Regions from separate parts of the Homo sapiens genome. Here region 2 is linked to region 1. Evidence: promoter capture Hi-C in 16 types of primary human blood cells and fetal thymus (Javierre and others, 2016). All regions are on one chromosome and are shown on one strand. The core of a region is centred on a gene start or on the middle of the fragment in contact, and the rest is flanking DNA. Distances in the headings are between cores, read along the strand shown.

What was found. Contacts are between HindIII fragments. The CHiCAGO score rates a contact against its expected background, and 5 or more counts as called.
Region 2: a contact is called between a fragment that was not itself captured here and the fragment with the promoter of FAR2 in region 1, in 2 of 17 cell types (monocytes and neutrophils). The highest score is 6.3, in monocytes.

Annotation. Positions count from the first base shown.
Region 1 is chr12:29,146,620-29,151,241 of GRCh38, forward strand. It overlaps FAR2 (fatty acyl-CoA reductase 2), which reads left to right and starts at 2,659. Exons shown (of 12, transcript NM_001271783.2): 1 at 2,659-2,788. RefSeq lists silencers at 2,507-2,566, 2,877-3,026. The HindIII fragment of the contact is 9,301 bases long and covers 1-4,622 here.
Region 2 is chr12:29,428,796-29,433,417 of GRCh38, forward strand. All of the region lies in intron 1 of OVCH1-AS1 (OVCH1 antisense RNA 1), which reads left to right. It also overlaps a transcript of OVCH1 not described here. Among named protein-coding and RNA genes, the nearest start is that of OVCH1-AS1, 42 kb to the left of the region's middle. The HindIII fragment of the contact is 4,156 bases long and covers 163-4,318 here.

The sequences.
Region 1 (4,622 bases), core at 1,409-3,908:
TCCCTGTAGGGGTTCCGGGGGAGAATCCTTCTTTGCCCCTTCCAGCTGCTAGTGGCTGTTGGCATTTCTTGGCTTCTCTGGCTTCCACGTGGCTCCAGTTTGTCTCCGCCTTATATTCACATCACCTTCTCCAGTGTGTGTGTATCTCAAATCTCCCTCTGTTTTTATCATGTGAGTATATTTGCCATTGGGTTTAGGACTCATCTGGATAACCCAGGATGATCTCATCTCAACATATTTAACTTAGTTAAATATAGAGTCTTTTTTTCAAATAAGGTCACATTCACAGATTCTGGGGATTTGCCTCAGGACATATCTTTTGGGGCCACTATTCAACCCACTACATTGCCTCTTTTTGTTATTATCTGTTATGGGTGGAACTGCGTTCTTCTCCGCCCCTGCCAGTTTCACATATTGAAGTCCTAACTCCCAGTACTCTAGAATGTGACCTTATTGGGAAATAGGGTTGTTGCAAATTTAATTAGTAAAGTTAAAATGAGGCCATTAAGGTGAGCTCTAAATCATATATGACTGGTATCTTTATAAAGGATAAATTTTGACACAGACATGAACATAGGGAGAATGCCATATGAAGATTATAGGAGACAGGGGTCATGTGTCTACAAGCCAACAAGAAACCACTGGAAGTAGGTAAGCATCATGGAAAATTCTCTCTCAAAGCCCTCATAAGGAACCAACCCTGCAGACATCTTGATCTTGGTCTTCTAGCCTCCAGAATTATGAAATAATACATTTCTATAGTTTAATCCACCCAGTTTATGTGCATCCTTATGACAGCCTTAGCAAACTAATACATTCTACATATATGAATAGCGTTTTAAATGGTGATAATCAAATTGTGGTTTTGTAATCTATAATTAATGTTGTATTTTATCTATGAACATCCCACTGAAAGTATGCTTTTAATTTCCTACTTTATAAACAACTCGGTAATAAATATGCAACTATGTACATGCGGCATTTCTCTTTTATGGATTATCTCCTTTGAATACATTGTAAGACATGGGAATCTAGGTCCAGAACAAGAAAAAATTTCGTTACTGAACACCTTGGGAATGTGTTGCTAAATTGCTTTCCAACAAAAGCGTGATTACAATTTACCTTCCATCTGCTATCTGTTAAGTGATTTCTATACGTTTTCACCAGCATTTGACATTATCATTTGAAGTGCTGTCACACACATTTTGAAGATACATTCAAATTTATTCTTGAGGAGGGGAGGGGTAACGAAAAATACTATAAATTTGGTTGTAACTTTTTTTCTGTCTCTTGCATTCAGGCGGTCACCAGAGGAAATTAGTCAGTGCCTTTAGGCTACACTTAGCTTAACACATTTCATTAAAGAGCCCAGTAGTAGAGAATTCAAGATGGGTGTTATTATTTTAATTTCATGAAATCACTCCTTAATTCTAACTTTCAAAAGTCAAATTTTATTTCTTTAATTGCATGTGGATTGTTATAATGAGGAGAATCAGAACAGCTTATAGGACAATATTTCTTTTCTATTTTTCTTAACACACCATATTTATTTGGAAATTTACCTCCTACATTGTCCAGGGAATTAGGATGGGCGTTGGCCGTTTTTCAGCACTTCCTGGTTGAGGCCAAGGGCTCCACTCACGTGCCTGTCCATCCCTCTACAAGGCTTCCCTGGCAGCTTGTTTTTCCGTTTAAAATTTAACAATGACCAAATCCCAAAAAAGCTACCAGGCTAAGAAATGAAACATCTTTTTTTCTTTTAAGTCCGGAGAAGTGCTGCTGAGCACAGCTGGCTCACTGCTGTTTCTGCGGCCCCCATCTCTGATCCTTTCTAGTCTCCTACCCACCCCCACCCCACCATAGGCAGGCAGAGCCGGATTTCTGCCCTTCAAACCCCGAGTGTGAGGAAGCCTCACCTGAAGTCCTCGCATCACCCTCCACCCTCACGCCCTTGGGTTTTAAAAAGCCACTGCGTTCGTGGGTCACTGCAGGGCGCCTCCGCAATGTCTTTAGCAGATACAAGAGCATCCCTCCCACGGGATGTGCAGTGTAGTCAAGCTGAGTAAACTGGGATTTTTGGCTGCCTTTTCTGCTAGGGTGGGTGGGGAAAGGTATGTCCCCCAAGCGTTCAGTTCAGACTAGAACCTTTGAATCTCTCTCCTGTCTCGGTCTCTCCCTCCACCCCCCTACCCCGCCACCTTTCACGGTGTGGGAGTTCTCCTTTCCCACACCAGAGAGGGGCGCCTTTCTAGCTTCCTTGTCCCCTCGCCCACTGATTAAAAAATGGAGAAAAAAACCAACCCCAAAACCCAAAACAAAACAAAACAAAAGCCCCAAACAAACAAACAAACCAAACCCACCGAAACCAAAACCAACTCCCCTCCCCCAAACCACACAAATGCGGGAGTCATAGCCAGTGGATCCGCTGGTGCTGAACGAATGGAAGCGCGGGGCGGGCCTGCGCGCGCGGCCGCCCTGCCCACGATGCTGTCGCCCCCGCGACCTGTAGGGCCTTCGCTGGCCCCTCACCCTCCTCCCGCCCCGGGCTGAGGCTGCCGCCGGTTTCGCGCCCAGTGCCGAGGCAGCGGCGGAGCCGGGGAAGGTCGGAGGGAGGGTGGTTTCCTCCCGCCCCACACCCAGTCTCCGAGCCGGATATATAGAGTGTCACGTTTGGGAGCCGAAAGACTGGAGCCGTTTCCTTGTGGCTGGAGCGCTTCCCGTAGCCTCGGGGAAGGAGCAGGATTTAGAGGACCACTAGTTGGACCCCATCCTCGTGCTGGAGGAACAGGTATTCCAGGGTCCCCAGCCCTGGCGCTCGCAGAGCCCACGCGCTCCAAAAGCAGAGACCGGACTGGGGGTGGCCCAGGAGGGAGGGCTCGGCTGGGTTCGCAGGGCGGGGCGGTTCCCGGCGGGACCTCGAGGAGGGTGGGTGTGAGGCCGGGTGGGAGGAGAGAAGCATTTGCGGAGGCTCTGCCCCCTGAAGCTGCCCCCGGCTGCACCCCAATCGTCACCGGCCGTTTACGCGCGGTTGGCGTCGGCGGAGCCCGCCAAGGTGGGGCGCGCGGGGGTTGCAAAGGGCAGAAAGCCGGGAAGGACCCAGCAAGGTTAATGTGGGGGGCCGCGCCTTGGGGACTGGGGACCCGGGAAGAGAGGCGCGGGGCCGAGTCCCACCCAGGCCTCCTGGGCCCTTGGGGCTATTCCTGGAGAGAGCGCGAAAATGCCGGGGCCACGTGTGAAACGGCAGCGGTCCTAGGTCCCCTCCCGGTGCCTGGGACCGCCAGGGCGCCCAGTCCTGGTCCCCGGAGCAGGTCCTCGCCAGCCCCCAGCCCCACCCCAGGCTGCGCACGTCCCTACCCTCCCACCTGGGCCTCGCCGGGGTCGTGGCTGACGCGCGCTGGGGCGACTGGTGAGGCCAGGGCGGGCTTTGCCCCTGTAGGAAGTTTTAGACATCTTCCTGCGGCCTGGGCATCCTGGGGGTGTGCAGGGGAGCAGGTGCCAGCAGACTCCCAACTGGAGTAGATGGCTTGCAGGAAGGCTGCTCAACACTCCTAGCAAGTAGAATTACCCGCGGGGCAGTCTCAGTCTATTAAAACAATTCATGCCCAATCGTATCCTACAAACCAGAGGAAGGCGTCTCACCTGCCAGCGGTGGCACCATTTCTTCCACGGTTGAGTTATGTGGTGTGAGCAACCAAGGTTATCGCTGGATCTGCAAGAGTTTGGCCACTCGTTGAATCACGTAAAGTGCCCCCATTATGTGATGAGCAAGGACAGAGTAGGGTCAGAAAAGTGACCAGGGAATTCAGGTAGATCGTGCTTTTCTGTTTGCTAGGTTGAGAGAAATTTGACACTGGGCAAATGGAAATTTGAGAATTACCCCGTGGTTTCAATTACCCATCTCTGTATATTCCCATTTATAAGAGCTGGAGATTTGACTGACAGGTGTAGTTAGTCCAAAATTTAGAAAGGGGGGCAAGGGACTAAATAAAAACTTAAGGCAGCCACCTAAACTGCAAGAGCAGGCATTTCCGCAGAAGGGATATTTGTGTGTGAGACTTCTAGGAGATGGGCATGAGGTTTTTACCAGGCCGACGCGTGTGTCAATATTTCATCGGTAGTATTTCTCAGGATCCACGTCTTTACAGTACTCTTTTCCTAATTCTGAGGGCTGCTTCTGCCCCTGCTGTATTAACAAATTCCTCACTTACTCCTATTTCTAACATTGGGCTATAATTATCTATAAAAGAGATGTAAATCACCATGAGTTGGTAAATCATACAGCTATTAGAGAAATTAAAGTAAATGAAAATATGCTTTCCTTAAAGGAAGCTAAAATGTGACATCCAGTTACAGAGGAAGAGGGAGAGGTTGAAAATAAATAAAATGGCTTATATTAGGGTATCACTTTGGGGTTTATAAAGCATATGATCATCTTGACCATCTCACCATCTGCTTTCCTATCTCCTGAGGAAGAAGCATTCTTGAGTGCATTTGTTTCTGGCAACGTCTCATCAGTGTTAAGAATTCCTTGATTTTGCATTAATTCCCATGCACTCATGAAAACTTACTTATTCACAAATATAGCCTTGTGAAGGATCATGCACAGTGACCACCAGCATGCT
Region 2 (4,622 bases), core at 991-3,490, 280 kb after region 1:
CTAAGTGGCAGAACTAAGAGGAAACTAGAGAAGTTGATGCAATACTCAATTACAAAATGTTTCAAAAAGTTTCCCTCTATGAGTCAGTCTCATGATGGAATACTGCCAAATGCTCAAGCATGACAGACACTATGTGACCAATACATTTCTAAAGATTATTCAAGCTTGGTAAGTGAGTGTAGCTCACTGGTAGACAGGTGCCTCTCATGTACAAGGCCCTGAGTTTGACTCCCAGCACCTCCAACCATTAATTTCTTAGTCCTCAGCACCACTCATCGGTAAAGATTATTCTGGCTAATGGAACTTTTCTCCACTTTAATTTATCTGAGGTCTAAAAAGGGCCATCTATATTATGAGTATAAAACCTGATACTGGTAACACTGAGTAAATACATTTTCAAAAAAGTTACCATCTAAAAATGCCATTTAGGAAATAAAATCCTTTAAAACATATGGCATCTGGACAAAACCAAGAGTGCCAACTAATGGTTAAATGAGATAGGAATTTTTGTACTAAAAAGTCAAGACAAGCCAGGATTGGGAAGGAATAAAGATCCAGTGAGTGTGATCTCATACTCATCCAACTGTGCTCAATAATGCTATAGGATTCTAATGAAGGATCTGATGAGAAATCACTGACAACAAATGCTATTGTTCCCAAGGCCAATGTAGGTCATGTTTTACATGTATATTCATTATATAAATACTTGGTGCCAGTTAGTGTAGGCCATTTAAGAAAGATAAATTTACAAAGTAGAATTGATTGCTGATATGGTCTATCATAAATATTATATAATCCCAATCACAGTTCAAAGATTCTTCTGTTATAAAGTCTTTAATCATGGCCTTCATTTTATTTACTGTTGTGGAATAAAAAGTCCAAGTGTAATTCAGCATGTTGAGTTAACTGTTAGGATAATCAAGAGATGTGATCTCAACAGAAGTCACTGGAATCAAATCCAATACTGGACATCCTTGAGACAAAGAGAAAAAATATACAATAATCAAAAAGAGAAGTTACTTGAATCTAATTGGAATGTCTACAAGTAGGTCATTAAAACCTAAACTGTAGCATACTTTATTAATTCCTATCATTGCTTCTTGGTATCCACAGATCCTTACTTATGTTTAAATGACTTCTGTTTGGAAAAACGGACCCCCACTTCAAAAGCAAACAGCCTGAATTATTTGACCTTAAATCACAAACTGTAAATCCATTAAGTCACACCACGTCTACATTTCAATTTATTTTTGTCACTCCTATTTCATACATGATCTTATTTAGGTTTCACAATCATAAGATACAGGTATTATTATCTTCAGTCTAGAGGTGTGTGAATTGACACTTGATATTCAAGAGATGTGACCTAAGATCTTTAGGACTTCTCTAAATTTGCAAATGCCATAGTAATATTTCACTTCCCCCATAACTGCATAAAACATAACTTCAATATCATTTATGAAATAGCATTAGCACTATTTTTGTGCTGGTTGGCCCCCTGCCAGGAGGTGGCATTTTCCAGAGAGCACCAGCTGTGGTCGAATGGGGAGGAACAGGTGATAGGCGGGCCCCTAGAACTCCCAAGAGTATATGCCCTCTGCAGTGACCAAGGTGGGTAGGGAAGGACCATTAGGTGGGGGCAGGGCTAAGTGTGTCTGAGCTCAGACTCTCCTTGGCCAGGTCTTGCTACAGCTGCTGTGGGAGATTGGGGTGAGGTTCCCAGGTCAATGGAGTTACATTCCTAGGAGGATTATGACTGTCTCTGCTGTGTCATGCAGGTTTTCAGGGAAACTGGGGGAGAGCTGACAGTCACAGACCTCACCCAGCTCCACACAATCCAAAGGGCTTGTCTCACTTCCACCATGCCCTCTCCAAAAGCACTGAGTCTGTTTCCAGGCAGTGGGTGAGCAGAGCTGGAGAATTTGTCCCAGGCTACCCACCTCCCAGCTGCGAAATCAAGTATGGCTTTCCTTCTATTCCTGCCTGTGGAGTCTGCACACCAGATTAACACCCTCCCTTGAGTTCTGGCCAGGAGGCTTCTTGATCAGTTCAAATTGTTACAAAGTTCAGTTGGAGAGTTCCTTCTCCATGTGGCCTTTTCCCAGTACCTCTAGCTGCCCTCCCAGAGTACCCCTGTGAGTCCAGGCAGAAACGGTTTGCTAAGGCACCAAGCAATCTCCCAAGGCTATGATTGTATTTAATTTTTCCTCTCATGGAATATAGAATAAGAACATTCAGGGTCAATACACCCAATTAAACTTTTATAACATATTTCTTTATTCTGATTATAAAAGCAATGCATATATGCTCATTATAGAAAGTTTCAAAAATAGAGTCCAAAGGAGGAGATAAAAAGTTGTGTTGGGTATGGTGGTTCACGCCTGTAATTCCAGCACTTTGGGAGTCCATGGCAGGAAGATTGCTTGAGCCCAGGAGGTTGAGACCAACCTGGGTAACAGCAAGACCTCGTCTCTACCAAAAAAAACAAAAGTGCTAGCCAGGTATGGTGGTGTGTACTTGTGATCCCAGCTACTTGGGAGGCTGAGGTGGGAGGTTCACTTGAGCCTGGGAGGTTGAAGCTGCGGTGAACCATGATCACACCACTGCACTGCAGCCTGAACAGAGCAAGACCCTGTCTCAAAAAAAAAATCCTCCTATAGTCCCTCCTTTAAGCAACCAATATTCATGTTTTAATGTAAATCTTGCAAAGTCTTTCTATGCTGTATATGTTTAAAAAATTGTATTCCATTTTATACCATTACAACATTTTCCCCCTATTTAATTTATTGTGACCATTTTTCCATGCTACTAACTACCTCATATAAATTATAATGGCTCTATATTTCTTATTCACATAGACATATCATAATTTCTCATAGCGTGTTTTATCTGCAATCTTAAGAACACAAAATGAGTCAGATCTTGAATAAACCTCACACATGGGGTATATAAATCTATTATAATTCTTCTGTCACGAAAAACATGTCTACATTAAAGGTTTTCTATGTTTATCTGAAAAACAGAATGAATATATGTAATAAGAGTCTCTTACCTGAGTTAACCCCTACTCATACATTAGCTCTCAGGCAGGAGGATTCGCCTAAGCAAAATAGACACGTTTGTTAACCCATTCATCAGCTAAGGAGCTACCTCCTTATTTTCCACTCCTACTCTGCCTTAGCTGAAATGTCATTACCTTTATTCAAATAAACAATTCTTGAGTACTATTTACCACGCATAGTTATAGGTTTCAGGGATATAGCAGAGGGCATGCTTGCTGAGGAACAGCAGCAAGGTTGGCATGGCTGGGTATGAAGTGAGCACTGGGAAAAGTAGCAGGGGAAGACATCAAAGGGATAGTCAAGAGCCAGATCCTATAGCATCTTGTAGGCACTATAAGGACTTTTACTATGAATGAGTTAGGAAAACATTGGATTATAAACATGATCTCAATTACTCATTTTAAAATGATCACTTTGGCTATTACACATAAAACTGGCTAAAGGAAGGCTGTACCAAAATATTATGGTGGAATTGTTCAGAAGTAGTAGCATTCTAGCTCTATTTTACTGAAAGACCTACTGATGAGCTATACTTGATGTGGAATGTGAGAAATCAAGGTGGACCAAGTTTAATGGCCTGAGTAATTAATTAGCAAAATGGAGTTGCTATCTACTAAGGTGGGAAAGATTGGTGGAGGAAGAGCTTGGAGGCAGGGGTAGGAAATCAAGGGTTCAATTTTGGTCATGTTAAGTTTGAGATTCTTATTAGATAGCCAAGTGGAAGGGGAGACACTTGGATATACAGTGCTAGTGTTCAATAAAGAAGCTGGGACTGGATATATAAATTTGGAAGTTATCACTGTATAGATGGTATTTAAAGCTAGAGAATGGGTGAGATCACTAAGGAAGGAGTATAGGTAAAGAAAGGAAGAGAGTCAAAGACTGGGTCCTGGGATACCTCAACTGACAGTGATAGAGAAAATGAGGAAAAACCAGCCAAGACTCTGAAGGAGACCAGTGAGCTCTCCTTTTTTGGAGACCAAAACAAGTGAGATTTGAGGAGGGAGAGCTCGTCTGTGTCATGACTGAGAAGGGACTACCAAATCTGGACTTGTGGAAGTCATTGATAGCTTCAGCAAGAACAGTGTCCATGAAATGGTAGGAAAAAAATAAAGCCATATGAGGATAAATTCAAGAAAAACGAGAGGGCAAAAGGGGAGACAGTGAGTATAAATAACTTCCATGGAGTCTTGCTAAAAAAAAGAGAAATCCAAGTTTTCCTTGATTCCCTTCCCTGTCCTCCATCGAAGTAAACAAGCTTCCTCTGTTATATATTTTTGTTGCACACTGTATTTTTTTCTTTATAACTGATATGGTTTTGCTGTGTCCACACCCAAATCTCACCTTGAATTGTAGCTTCCATAATCCTCATGTGTCTGGGGAGGGACCCGGTAGGAGGTAATTGAATCATGGGGGTGGGCTTTTCCCATGTTGTTCTCGTGATTATGAATAAGTCTCACAAGATCTGATGGTTTTATAAAAGGCAGTTCCCCAGCACACGCTCTCTTGCCTGCTGCCACATAAGACGTGCCTTTACTCCTCTTTCACCTTCCGCCATGA